2 separate regions of the Homo sapiens genome follow, and region 2 is linked to region 1. The links are contacts of gene promoters, found by promoter capture Hi-C in blood cells and fetal thymus (Javierre and others, 2016). All regions are on one chromosome and are shown on one strand. Each heading gives the region's core, a stretch centred on a gene start or on the middle of the fragment in contact. The rest is flanking DNA. Distances are from core to core; before and after follow the strand shown. Region 1 holds the start of OCIAD1-AS1 (OCIAD1 antisense RNA 1). Region 2 overlaps FRYL (FRY like transcription coactivator).

The links. Contacts are between HindIII fragments. The CHiCAGO score rates a contact against its expected background, and 5 or more counts as called.
Region 2: a fragment that was not itself captured here is called in contact with the fragment with the promoter of OCIAD1-AS1 in region 1 in 4 of 17 cell types (M2 macrophages, naive CD4 T cells, naive B cells and 1 more); the score reaches 6.1 in M2 macrophages.

The regions. Positions count from the first base shown.
Region 1 is chr4:48,855,901-48,862,720 of GRCh38, forward strand. It overlaps OCIAD1-AS1 (OCIAD1 antisense RNA 1), which reads right to left and starts at 4,303. Exons shown (of 2, transcript NR_146806.1): 1 at 4,257-4,303. It overlaps OCIAD1 (OCIA domain containing 1), which reads left to right. Exons shown (of 9, transcript NM_017830.4): 8 at 1,313-1,465; 9 at 4,825-5,915. The coding sequence ends at 4,862. The HindIII fragment of the contact is 4,141 bases long and covers 1,111-5,251 here.
Region 2 is chr4:48,627,623-48,634,442 of GRCh38, forward strand. FRYL (FRY like transcription coactivator) reads right to left here. Exons shown (of 64, transcript NM_015030.2): 4 at 6,669-6,820. The coding sequence starts at 6,788. Among named protein-coding and RNA genes, the nearest start is that of ZAR1, 140 kb to the left of the region's middle. The HindIII fragment of the contact is 3,638 bases long and covers 2,251-5,888 here.

The DNA.
Region 1 (6,820 bases), core at 3,053-5,552:
CCTACCTTTGAGTTCTAAATAAGTATCACAAAAATTATTTTTTAAAAAGTTAATATTAAAAGTATATGCCCAATTTGTATGTCTTATTGAAAACATCTTTGAAAAACAGTACTTTTGGTGTGGTATGTGGTAGGTAAGACTTTGTAAGTTAAGTAGTTGTTCACTGAATGTTAGCATCTTTTTTTTTTAATGTTCATATGGCCTTTTTTGCTGTTTATAAATTGTATAAACTATGTTCACTATTTGATCCTGTCAACCAATATTAGGAGTAACCACTGCATTATATTTACATTTGACTCTATGATAATATGTAATATTCACATTTTGACTCTCTTTGGGAGAAATAAAGAATAAATGTTAGTTCCCAGGCCAAAATAACAGTTGATACTTTCTTCTGCATCAACATTGCATCTGTTAGACTGGAATGAAAACAACACATATTCTGATTAAAGGCTATGTTTTATACTTTTCAAGTAATTATTTTCAACTTTTTTTCCTTTTTTTTTGAGACAGAGTTTTGCTCTTGTTGCCCAGGCTGGAGTGCAATGGCGCGATCTCAGCTCACTGCAACCTCCGCCTCCTGGGTTCAAGCGATTCTGCCTCAGCCTCCTTAGTAGTTAGGATTACAGGTGTGTGCCACCACGCCCAACTAATTTTGTGTTTTTAGTAGAGATGAGGTTTCTTGTTGGCCAGGCTGGTCTTGAACTCCTGACCTCAGGTGATCCGCCCGCCTCGGCCTTCCAAAGTGCTGGGATTATAGTTGTGAGCCATTGTGCCTGGCCTATTTTCAGTATTTTTGTTTAAATTTTGTAAAAAGGTAAAATAAATGATTTTTGAAAATAGCTGGAGTTGTTTTCATAGAGTCTGTGGTTATAGGACTATTTAACTATATATTGAGTAAAATCTATGCTATGTCAAGTTTTATTCAGTTGTCCCTAGTAGAATATATTTCTCTTTTAATTCTGTATACAGTATGAGTAACTCCAGTTTAAAACACTGGTATTTTAATGAGTTTAAATTGTACTGTTATATATTATGATACATATTTTTCTTCTGGCTGTGGTTTAGTTTTTAAAATTTTTGATGTCCATTTTAATTTTTAGAAATAAAAGCTTAAAAATATGGGTGGAAGTAGATTTCAGTTTGATGATTATCTTGGTGAAAGTATAGTACCTGTGAAATGGTGGTAATAATTTGATTCTTTATTCTATTTTGATTGTAGCTCCTTTTGTAAGGAGCATTTGTAAAATTTAGTTGCTTTAGAGTTATACAAATCCTTTTATTACCATTTATTAACTGTTTGTTGTTTTAGGACCTGATCCCAACCTTGAAGAAAGTCCTAAAAGAAAAAATATTACATATGAGGAATTAAGGAATAAGAACAGAGAGTCATATGAAGTATCTTTAACACAAAAGACTGACCCCTCAGTCAGGCCTATGCATGAAAGAGTGCCAAAAAAAGAAGGTATGATAGTTTAGTCTGAATCACTTTACTGTTGAGGATTGGAAACTAAAACATTACTTTAAAACAATACTATAAAAAATTAATTAATATGTGATTTAACTCTTCAAGCAATTAACCAAAGTAAAATATTTTTAAAATAGTACTTTACAGTTATCAGTTCTTTTTTTTTTTTTGAGACGGAGTCTTGCTCCGTCGCCAGGCTGGAGTGCAGTGGCACGATCTTGGCTCACTGCAGCCTCTGCCTCCTGGATTCAAGCAATCCTCCTGCCTCAGCCTCCCAAATAGCTAGGACTACAGGCCCCCACGCCCAGCTAATTTTTTGTATTTTTAGTAGAGATGGGGTTTCATCATGTTGGCCAGGATGGTCTCGATCTTTTGACCTTGTGATCCGCCTGCCTCAGTCTCTGAGAGTGCTAGGATTACAGGCTTGAGCCACCGTGTCCGGCCAGTTTTCCATTTTTAAGGTGTTCCAAAGGCCATTTTGTGTTAGAAAATAATGAAGTCAAGGCCAGGTGTGGTGTCTCATGCCTGAAATCCCAGCACTTTGGGAGACCAAGCTGGGTGTATCACTTGAGGCCAGGAATTGGAGACCAGCATGGCCAACATGGCGATACCTTGTCTCTACTAAAAATACAAAAATCAGCTGGGCATGGTGGTGCATGCCTGTAATCCTAGCTACTCGGGAGGCTGAGGCAGGAGAACTGCATGAACCCAGGAGGCAGAGGTTGCAGTGAACCGACATCACGCCACTGCACTGCAGCCTGGATGACGGAGCGAGGCTCTGTTCCCCCCTCCCCCCGCCAAAAAAAGGAAGAAAATAGTGAAGTCCAAATAGTAAGTCTTAAGACAGCAAGATTAGTTTAACACAGGGTAGAGACATACTCATTTGACTGTTTCTCTCTTACAACAAATCTCCTTGGAGATCTGATAGTCTTATTTTCCTAATGATACATCTATCGCATAAGTTGCTGTAGTGACCTGAGGTTGGCGTTGCGCTGTAATACCACTTGTGGCCTAACCACAGAATGATTGAGTAATGAGATTGATTTTCTTGTACATTTGGGTTTTTCTCGTGTTTTTTTGTTCTGTTTGTTTGTTTTTTCTTTTTGAGATGGTTTTATTCTGTCACCCAGGCTGGAGTGCAGTGGTGTAATCATGGCTTACTGCAGTCTTGACCTCCTGGGTTCAAGCAGTCCTCCTACCTCAGCTTCCTGAGTAGCTGGGACTACAGTTGTATGCCACCATCCCTGGCTGTTAAAAATTTTTTTTGGTGCAGTGGGTTTTTCCCTATGTTGCCAAGGCTGGTCTCAAACTCCTGGGCTCAACCAGTCCTTTCACCTTGGCCTCCCAGAATGCTGGGATTATAGGTGGGAGCCACTGTGCCTGACCTTTCTTGTACATTTGTGAATTTGAAAGAGTTATATGCCAGCTTCTAAGGCATTTCTTAAAGATGAATTTTTAAATCCTGGTTTCTTTTAAGTCTTTTTGGAATAGCTATACATTAGCCAAAGTAAATTTTTTGATACAAGTTTACCTCTAAAGGAAGAGGACATTCGAATAGGGTTTTATAGCTATTTCAGTATAGGGTTTTATGATTTTCTCTTAAGGAATTTCAGAGTATGTGTCATTGTTTCAAGATTTTCTATTTACTACTTTAAAAATGGAAATAATAGGTCTTTGGTACCTTCTTGAAGGTCATATGCCACAAAGAATGCAAAAATACATGAAAGTCCTTAGTATTTGTTGTTATGGTCATTTTTTAGAGCTAATTTTATTTTTAATCATTAGCGGTTGCTTCGTTTGGAGTTCTGTTTTTATAACAATGATAGATAATATCTGCATCATATTATTGATGTAAAAAAAATCTACCTTTGAAATGAATTAGGGATGTACCATACTTTTGAATGTTTGTCATCAAACAACATTTAGCATAAACTGCATCTAGTGGCCATTGCTCTGTAATATGTAAAGACTTGTCGGTACTTTGTCCTGCTAATTAATTTGAGGATTTAGATTGTAAGCTCTGTGAGGGCAGAAAGTAATATTTTTCTCATTTTTGTAATCTTTTCTATTATTGTCTGCATAGCATAGTACTTTACACTGTATCAGAAATTGAGTATTTTGGTTTAGGCTTCTATGGTAATAGAGGTTAAGAAAGGAAATTTGGTAGACCTTTAACATTTGCTGGATTTTGACATTTTTGATTTTTGACTGAAGTCTTCAAGTTCTGTTACATGACACAAGAATGTGAAATGATTTTTTCTTTTTTTGGGAAAAGCTGGTTTTTTGTGTGCTTTATATAATTTAAAGAAAAGACTTGTTATGAAATAGTTTCAGTCATTTTCTGAATTATTGTTGAAATTAGTACAGGGTAGATTCACATGGTCAGAAAGTGTCACTTAAAGTTTTCACCTTTAGCTTATGTGGTTGATATTTATCTAATTAGAAATTAAGACCCAGAAATTTAAAAAATTCAAGCACATATTCCATTAGCTGCCAGAGCAATGTCACCACACATCCTGTAGCTTCTAGAAAACCATGTAACATATACTCATGAGGGAATGAGAGCAAGGGGAAAAGGCAAAATGTGAAACATAAGGATATATAATGTCTTAGTATAATAATGAAATAATTTTGACTTCATGTATTCCCTGAAGAGTCCACACTGTGATAACTGCTGCTTTATATTGTTATGATTACTCACAGACAGAAGCTATGTGGAAGAGAAGCAAAAAAGTAAAGGAGTAGAATAGACAGCGGAGCATGTTTTAAAATGTAAAATATAGAGTACCTGTAAAATGTAGTAGTATTTTCTTCTTATAGTAGTATTTACAGCCCTGAGAGAGAAGATTGAATTAATTACAACTTGAACACTTGACCATTTCTACTGCTGTATTTTTTGTGAAAAACGAAAATTCAAATGTTTGTTTTATTATTTCCCACTATTTTTTTTTTTTTTTGTATATGGCTTAATATGTGCCACACTTAGGTAGTATGGTAAAGATGTAAAGGTACCTAGGCTTTGGATCTAAACAGACCTATACTCAAATCTCAGTTCTTGTTAGGGCTTGTACCTTGGGCAAGTTACTAATCTTTTTTCTCACCATTAAAATGAGAATTGTGTTTAGAAGTTTGTTATGAGGACTAACTATTTATGTAAAATTCTAGATACAATGCATTTGTCCAACCCCAAGTTCACAAAAGTCTGGTCATCCCCTTTTTGTAATTATAATTTGACTCTCATGTGCTTTTATTCAAATGAGAGAGAAACATAACTTTTCATCATAGCAACAAACTTAAAATAATGTCTTTTACTTATTATTGCTTGGAATCATCAATTATTTATGCTTTTTTCCTAGTCAAAGTAAACAAGTATGGAGATACTTGGGATGAGTGAAAAATTACATCATTGGACATGAAGGAGTTTCAACATCCAGCTTCATCTAGGTGGTCATGATTACCTGCATGCTTTGAGCTCAGCAGCAGTCTTCATAAACACATTTAAAACAAGATCCTGGGTTTTTGTGGTTTGACTTCTATGGTGTTTTAAAAAAACACAGATTTTTAGTGTTAATATTGTGTAAATGTACTCACCTTAGGGATTCATTTGAATGATGGTATTATACCATGATTGTATACAGTTTGTGAAATTGTTGCAAGGGCAAAGATAACTCTTAAAAAACCGTCGAGATTACAATGCTCTAGAATCAGCATATAAGAAAATAAATGATATCTGCATGTTGAATTGGGGTGGATGGGGGGAGCAAGCATAATTTTTAAGTGTGAAGCTTTGCATCAAGAAATTATTAAAAAGCTTTTTTTCTCCAGTATTTTCTGTATTATCTTAATGTTTATGGCAAATAAAATGTAAAGGAACATGCAACAGCCCTCATCTTCCTTGATTTTATGGTTTTATTGTTTGTAATTTATTGATTTATTTTTAAGCTAGTTATAATCATGTAGGTATAGGAAATAAAGTCATCTATAATATTTCTATAATATGGCTATAATATGGCTATAAATCTATAATATGGCTGGAGGCAGTGGGCAGTGGTTCATGCCTGTAATCCCAGCACTTTGGGAGGCCGAAGTGGGAGGATTGCATGAGTCCAGGAGTTTGAGACCAGCCTGGGCAACAAAGCGAGACCCTGTCTTTACAAAAAAATAAAAATTAGCTGGCGATGGTGTCGTGTGCCTGTAGTCCTAGTTACTTAAGAGGCTGAGTTGGGAGGATCAGTTGAACCCAGTGGTTCTGGGTTGCAGTGAGCTGTGGTCACACCACTGAACTCCAGCCTGTGCGACTGAGTGAGACCCTGTGTCTAAAAAAATAAAAATATAATGAATGTGATTTATGTAGATAAATTGATAATATAGTAAATAGGTAAATGCCTTAAAAAGCATTTTTAAAGAATTTGTAAATTCTAAAACAATAAAAATTTGGTATACATCACAGAGACTGATATTATGTTAAAAAGAAAAATTGGTGTACAGTGACCCTTCGTATCTGTGGGTTCCGTATCTGCAGATTCAATCAACTGCAGATTGAAAATATTTGAGGGAGAGAAATGGATGGTTGTCTGTACTGAACTCTTGTTATTCCCAAACAATACATTGTAATAACTATTTACATAGCATTTACATTAGGCATTACAAGTAATCTATAAATGACTTAAAGTATATAGGAGGATGTGCATTGGTTATATGTAAATACTACACCATTTTATAGTGGACGTTAGGAACCTGGACCAATAGACCCCCACCTAGTCACATTTTAGAAAGAACACATGGGATGGGAGATACCGCAGCCATCTTTCAGTCTATCATTTGGCAGCTGTAATTCACATCCCTTTCCTGAGGACCTCTGTTTCCTATGCCATTACAAAAGCTCAAAGTCTAGGAGCTGATCATCTAATCAGGATAAGGTATGGATGAGGCTCCTTGGGTAAAGCTTCATGAATAAAAGCGTCATGAATACCATTTCTCTGTCTGAAGGCCTGAACTTAAGAACTTATCTGCTTTGTTCACCTGTTAGGCATAACATCACTACTCTGGAGATTCCCATTCAAAAAGAGAAAAGGAAAGGCTTGGCTTGCAATTCTGAAGTCTAGCCAGCCTAATGTGGCTGTTCTTTGGGGCCTAGGTATATTCCCTGGGGGTTGTTCTCTGGTGCTTTTGACCCTGCCCTCTGATTTTTCCTTTTCTATTGAGGCACTTGTGTTTGCAGCTGAGTAGTTTTTTTTGTTTGTTTTTTAAAGCCTACTCCCTCACAGAATTTGGGGGTCCAAAGGCCTATTTTTACTACTACCCCTGTCCAAGCTGACATATTTTTTCATATTTTTTTCCTGTGTATTTCTC
Region 2 (6,820 bases), core at 2,820-5,319, 230 kb before region 1:
AAATAAATAAATAAAAACAGAAAAACAGAAAACATGAAAAGATATACTACACTAAATATAAATTACTAATCAAGGACTTTGTATTAACTTCTTAGGTTCATTATAGTGTAGTTGAGGATGCCCTAATGCTTGCTCAAGTAGATGTACTGTGTTTCAATATGTAAGTTTTTTTATATAAAAAAACTGTCACCCAGACTGGAGTGCAATGGCATGATCTCAGCTTACTGCAACCTCTGCTTCCTGGGTTTAAGTGATTCTTCTGCCTCACCTCCCCAGCAGCTGGGATTACAGGCGCCTACTACCACGTCCAGCTAGTTTTTGTATTTTTAGTAGAGATGGGGTTTCACCATGTTGGCCAGGCTGGTCTCGAATGCCTGACCTCAGGTGATCCATGCGCCTCAGCCTCCCAAAGTGCTGGGGTTACAGGCGTGAGCCACCATGCCCGGCCTCAATATATTAGTATTTTTTAAAAGACAAACTATTAAAAAACATTTATTGTCTATGTAACTCATCACAAACAACTAAAAAGTAAAATTATTCTTTACACTAACACATAAATGAATGCAAAGATGTGTGTACAGCAATATGTCCTGTAGCATTTCTTTAAAGCAGCCTCAAACTAGGGTAAGGCCAAAACTGCCTATCAATAGAGACTGATTTAAAACTATATATGTAATATTCGACTGTTAGAAAGAATGAGATTAATTTATATTGGCTGATACATAATAATCTCCAATTTAGATTGTTAAAATAAAAATATCTGGGTACAGAAAAAATGTGTATTTTATATATATCTCCCCTTCATTTGCGTGTGTGTGTGTGTGTGTGTGTGTGTGTGTGTTTAAAGGTGATTTCATATAAGTAAAAAAAATAGAACAAAGAATACGAGAGGCTGGGAGGGGTAGGGGAAAGAGAGGCACAGAGAGATTTGTTAAAGAATACAAAATTACGACTAGAGTGGGGGGAATAATTTCTAGTGTTCTATACCACTGCAGGATGACTATAGTAACAATAATACATTATATAGTTTCAAATAGCCATAATAGAAGGAGGATATTGAATGCCCCAACATAAACAAAATGACAAACACTTGAGATGATGGATATGCTAATTAGCCTGGTCTGATCACCATATGTATTACCACATCCCTATGTACTCCCATGAGATCTGCAATTATTATACGTCAATTATTTTTAAGATTAAAATTTTTTAAATTGAAAGAATAAAAAGTTTTTAAAGGTGGCAGGTGCTACATAGATGGATAAGTAATAGACATGAAAAACTGGTAGACTAAAAACTGTTGATAGTGATTAGATGTTTTTATTATATAATCTTTAAAACTATTTCTACTTTTTATAGTCTTATTTTCATAGTAATAAAAGTTATAGTAATATTATAATTATAAAATATTATAATACTTTATAATATTATACAGTATTATAGTGTTATTTTCATAATACTATAAAAAGTTAATAATAATTCCAAGGCTCACAATCCTATATTTTATAATTTAATTCTACATATAGTGCATATGTAGGATACCAACAGCAATATGTAGCTTCAGAGAAAGCAAGAGAATTTTTGGAAAAATTTTGAAACCGTAACAATGACACTGAAACATTTCAGTAATCTGTAATTGGAGATGGCAGGTTGAACACTTGTATAGCCAACCTTCTATCCTAAAACAGAACAGTGAAATAATTTTTATAAGGGCTAAAACAAAAGAACAAAAAGGATGGGAGAGGAGGTGAAAAGCAGATGAAGACCATAACTAATTATCTCACCAAACAACGGTGACTCCTGAGTAAGCAAAGGGGAAAGTCGGCAGTCTGTTCATTCAGTCAGTCATTCACTCATTTGTCCAAATTATTTACTGGGTTCACAGTATGCCAGACATTGTTCTAGGTTCTGGAGATACAGCCATAACAAAACGGAAAACAACTCGCTCTCTTACAGAGTTAACAGTCTAATTAGAGAGTAAAGAAGTGTATATTATGTCAGACAGATTTAGGACAGGAAGTTGGAATGGGGACTGAAATTTCAGATAACATGATCATAGAGAAGATGACACTTGAGGCACAACCAGAGGGAAGTGAGTGAGCTTGACCCACAGAGAGTAAAGGAAAGATAACCCAACTGATGCTTTAGAACTTCCCAGAAGGCTCAGGAATTGGAGAACTTGGGTACTCTGAAAGTATGGCTAAAGGTGAGGATAAAAATAAGAGGGCTGATTGAAAGATTGTTTTAAAAAGCTTGTTTAAGAAAGATTTAGACCCTCCCTTTCACTTTACCTTCAGAGGCATTGCCTTTCTTAGGAAAGGGCAAAATACAATGATGCTGACTGGGGCATACAATGGTTGAAGAGGTACCATACTGAAGATAGGGAGGTTAAGCAAGAATATATAAACCAAATATCAAAAACCCCAGTTATCTTCTGAGTCTAGTTCCCCAGAATGCTTGCAGCTAAAGCCTAAACTCTCCCATTCAGAGTACTGTAGGAACCTTCTTTGGGGACTCTGACAAGTCCCCCAAAAAAGATCTGACACTGATGGTCCATTGACAGTAATACACAGAAGATCACAGTCAAAAAGGCTCCTCTGTGTACACTGGACTTCCAATCAACTGTGTTTCATTCTTAAAATATAACAAGTTAAAATAAACATGTGAGGAGAAGGTAAAACCAGCAGAAAAATGCAGTTTGGAAGAAACTGACCATACAGGGAGAAGAAACCCTTTAAGACACATACATATATTTATACTCTCAAAAAAAATAGTGAAAATTTTAGAGTTTTTAAAATGCTGGGCCTAAATCAAAACATAAGGTCTAAATCAGAAGAAGATAGGTAAATGGATTTTCTTCTATCTTCTTTTCTAGTCCCCAGCAATCTAAAAGATTAACAGATAAACTTGGATATACCTAGGTTATTACCGAGGATTGATCCATCTCCTTTTAGGAAAAAAGGACCTAAGGTATTGGATTGCATAGCCTGCAAGTTGCCATTTCAATCACCAATTGCCCTTCTTGAATCTTCCTTCTAAAATGAAAATGAAATTGTGGCTAAAAATCCAACTCAGCTAATCTTCGAGTCTTTTGGCTTCCTTAATCTTCTTTTATTATGGTTTCTAATGTAAGAATGAAAAAGCCAATTCTCTCATTTTAGTGGTAGATTAAATTCTTTCAGCAAAAGCCATTCACATTTGTGTTTTTGAAACCTACTACCTGACTGACCATGAGCAAGGCCAGCCTCCTTGTATCTGACAAGCCCTGGATGCTATTTTCTTTAAAGTGACTCTGAACCCAGAGAGTCATCTTAGATGATTATTACCTAAAAGGGTACAGAATAAATTTCAAAATAAATGAAATTCCAATAAAAGCATTTGAAGCTATATTGTAAAAACTGTGACAATATTAGATTAAATGTATTTTCATTATCTAATCTTGAAGCTATGGATTCCCAACTTACCCAGACTTGGACATAAATAAAAACAAAGCTGGCACTCTGCTCTAGATAAGAAGAAATTATCTTGGTATATAGGAGTGTAAGGGGTAAAATCTGTAAAATATGATGGTGATTTGGGGGTTTTCCTGGTGTGTCAGGAAGAGTAAGCAGTGATGCCTCTTCTATTTGTGATGGCAGAGTAGAAACATCTACGTTCTGATGAAATCCTTACCACTATTAATCATAATTTTATAATCTCAGATTACATAGCAGATGCCTCTAAAATTAACTATTAAATAAATGAATTAACTAATAAGATAAATGAATAGCATCAGGCTATTCTGAAAGAACTATCGGAAGCTCTGGCTAGAATGAAAACATTATTATTATTATTATTATTAGAAAAACAAAAGGCACACACCACAGCAATACTTCTTAAGGCTACATTCATTAAAATACTAATATTTAACAAAAACCCTCTACTGAGTACCCACCACCACAAGCAGTGCCACAGATACAGAGATGAGAGAGACCTGGTTCCTGGTATCGAGTAACTCACATCGGAGAAGATAAACATGTAAGCAATTAACTATAACGTGATATCATCATAATCTAGAAGTATGTACAAATTATTACAGTAAAATACATATTCATTTAGCTTAGGGGGGGATGACTAAGTTAGAGGGAATATATGGGAAGTTTGGAATGAGAATATATAATATGGCCAGAGGCGGTGGGTCTATAATCCCAGGACTTTGGGAGACCAAGGCAGGTGAATCACTTGAGCCCAGGAGTTTGAGACCAGCTTGGGTGAGATCTCATCTCTACAAAAACACAAAAATTAGCCAGGTGTGGTGGCGCATGCCTGTAGTCTCAGCTACTCAGGAGATTGGGGTGGGAGGATTGCCTGAACCTGGGAGGTGAAGGTTGCAGTGAGCCAAAATTGCGCCACTGAACTCCAGCCTGGGAGACACAGCAAGACCCTGTCTCTCCAAAAAAAAAAAAAAAAAAAAAAAAAAAAAAAAAAAAATATATATATATATATATATATATATATATATATATATGCGCACACAAAATCTCAAATATATAAATATATATATAAAAATTGAGAACTGGTAGGACTGTATCACATGATACTACTATAAAACATTTTATAAAATAAAGTGTTTTTAAAATGTGCTGTGTGACTTGAAAATGGCTGAGGCCAGGTGATGGGTCCTAAGTGTTCATTATACCATAATCTTTAGTTTTATATATGTTTGACATTTTCCATAATAAATTCTTCAATTTGTTTAGAGTTGTTCCCTTACTGTATGCTGTTTAAGTAGACTAGTGTAGTAATTTATCATGTAATTCAGAGACCATTGAAAAAGAAAACTAACATTTTGTAGTTTAAGCATATCTATAATCAAATCTTATAATCATGAACTTATGCTATAGGCTTTTGTAATCCTTACTTCTAAAACAGAACTTTATATTAATAATATATATGCTGTCTATATATATACTATATATACATTATACAATATACACAAAAAATATATATACATTAGTATAAAAATCAATTTGCTATGTGGAAAGCAATCATGGGATGATTTAAACTGAATATAAACATCTGCACAGTTTTGAAATATACATTTGGCTATTATTATGTATCAGATCCCGGAACATATTATTTCATAGATGCTTTCCTCAGAGTAGTTTTCTCTACTTAATCATTGAGAAGAAACTCACCTTCACAGCAATTTCAAGGCTACTTCACTAAGAAAATAAGAGCATTGACAATACTTCCTTCAACTTTCTTCCTGCCCTGTCCTCCCTTCTGTTGTTTTCCTCTCTCATCCTTCTAAGGAACTATAACAGGCTGAGTAAGCACACAGGTTCTAAAGCCAATATATTATTGTGCCTAACTCCTCAGTGCGCCGTCACAAACCCTCTGAATCTGAAATTGGTGGTGAATAGCTATCCCTAATTCAGTTGTGTAAGGAGTGAGTTTCAGCTGTTACAACATCCTTCGCCTTCCTCTCCATTCCCAACATCCCACATCGAACCTACACTGTGTTCTTAGTACATCACATACCCACTTCCTTCCAGCCCAAAGAGTAACCTAAACTGTCACCTATTTAAGTTGGCAGAGAGTCAAAGTTACTTCCTGTAATTATATCAAGAAGGTAAAACTGTTCTGTTTTATTTCTGCTTATTTCCAAATCCAATAACCACTTCTCTCAATGTTCATTGTACTTTGCTGCTCTACGTCATTGGCAATAATAATTCTATATTTTCTTTCCCTTGAAATCATCATTTGCTCTTTTGGCTTCAATTTACACCCTCATATAGATGATACCAAAATCTGTATTTCTAGTTACCATCTCTTGAGTTCTCAAAAAGAATTTCCAACTACCAATCAAGCAACTAATTCCATGTGGTGAGATCATCAGTATCTCAAGCTTAAGGTACGCAAACGAAAAATTATTTTATCCACCTTTTCTACCCAAAGATATTCCTGTGTACTTTACCAAAGTAAATATATTATCATCTTTACTAACACTCCAGAGCATCTTTAACCCTTAACTTTCATTCAAAATGCCCCCTACTTAGTTACTTGTCAAGTTCTATTGATTTTACTTCTGTTATTTCTCTTACTTTCTTCTGCAACCATTTCTACTTCTAACACCATAGTTCAAGACCCCTTTCATTCCAGCCTGAACTATGTACAATAACTAAATAGTCTCCGCTCTCAATGTCTTCTCTCTCTATTGTTCAACCACCATATTATCCATCACAATAGCATTTACAACTCTTTAGAAACTGACCCATGTGTTTGTTTTCAGTCTTTCTCTTCCCTCCTCCTCATCATGGGCTCTAATCAAATAGAGCTTCTCACATTCTCCAAGTATGTCTCACACAATATACATGTAAAATATGTTCTCTTGTTTATTATAAGTTTGGCTGTGACCTTAGTGTTAACTCACATTATATCCTAATTTTCCTTTATTTCCTATGTTTTATTTGTTTCCACAATTCCCACTGTTGAAGTTCCTTTTTGTTCTTTTGCGACCTGCAGCAACTTATCAAAGTGGATTCTAAAGTCAGTGCAGCTTTCTACATCACCACTATCCCTTAATATTTTTTTCAAGTATATTATTTCCTTTGAAAAATCTGCATTATAGTGGTTAATACAAAAGTCAAGAAAATATTTCAGATTTATAGGTCAGCTGTACTCACCAAGGGTTCGGCCATTACAACTTCAATTTTCTTTTCAGCTTGAACAGCAAATTCTGCAAAGAGGCTCTTGATGACATATTCACCAGGTTTGACATCTGGGTCAATCGTAATGTTTGACATGATGATATTTTTTTTTCCCCAAGTGGAATGAA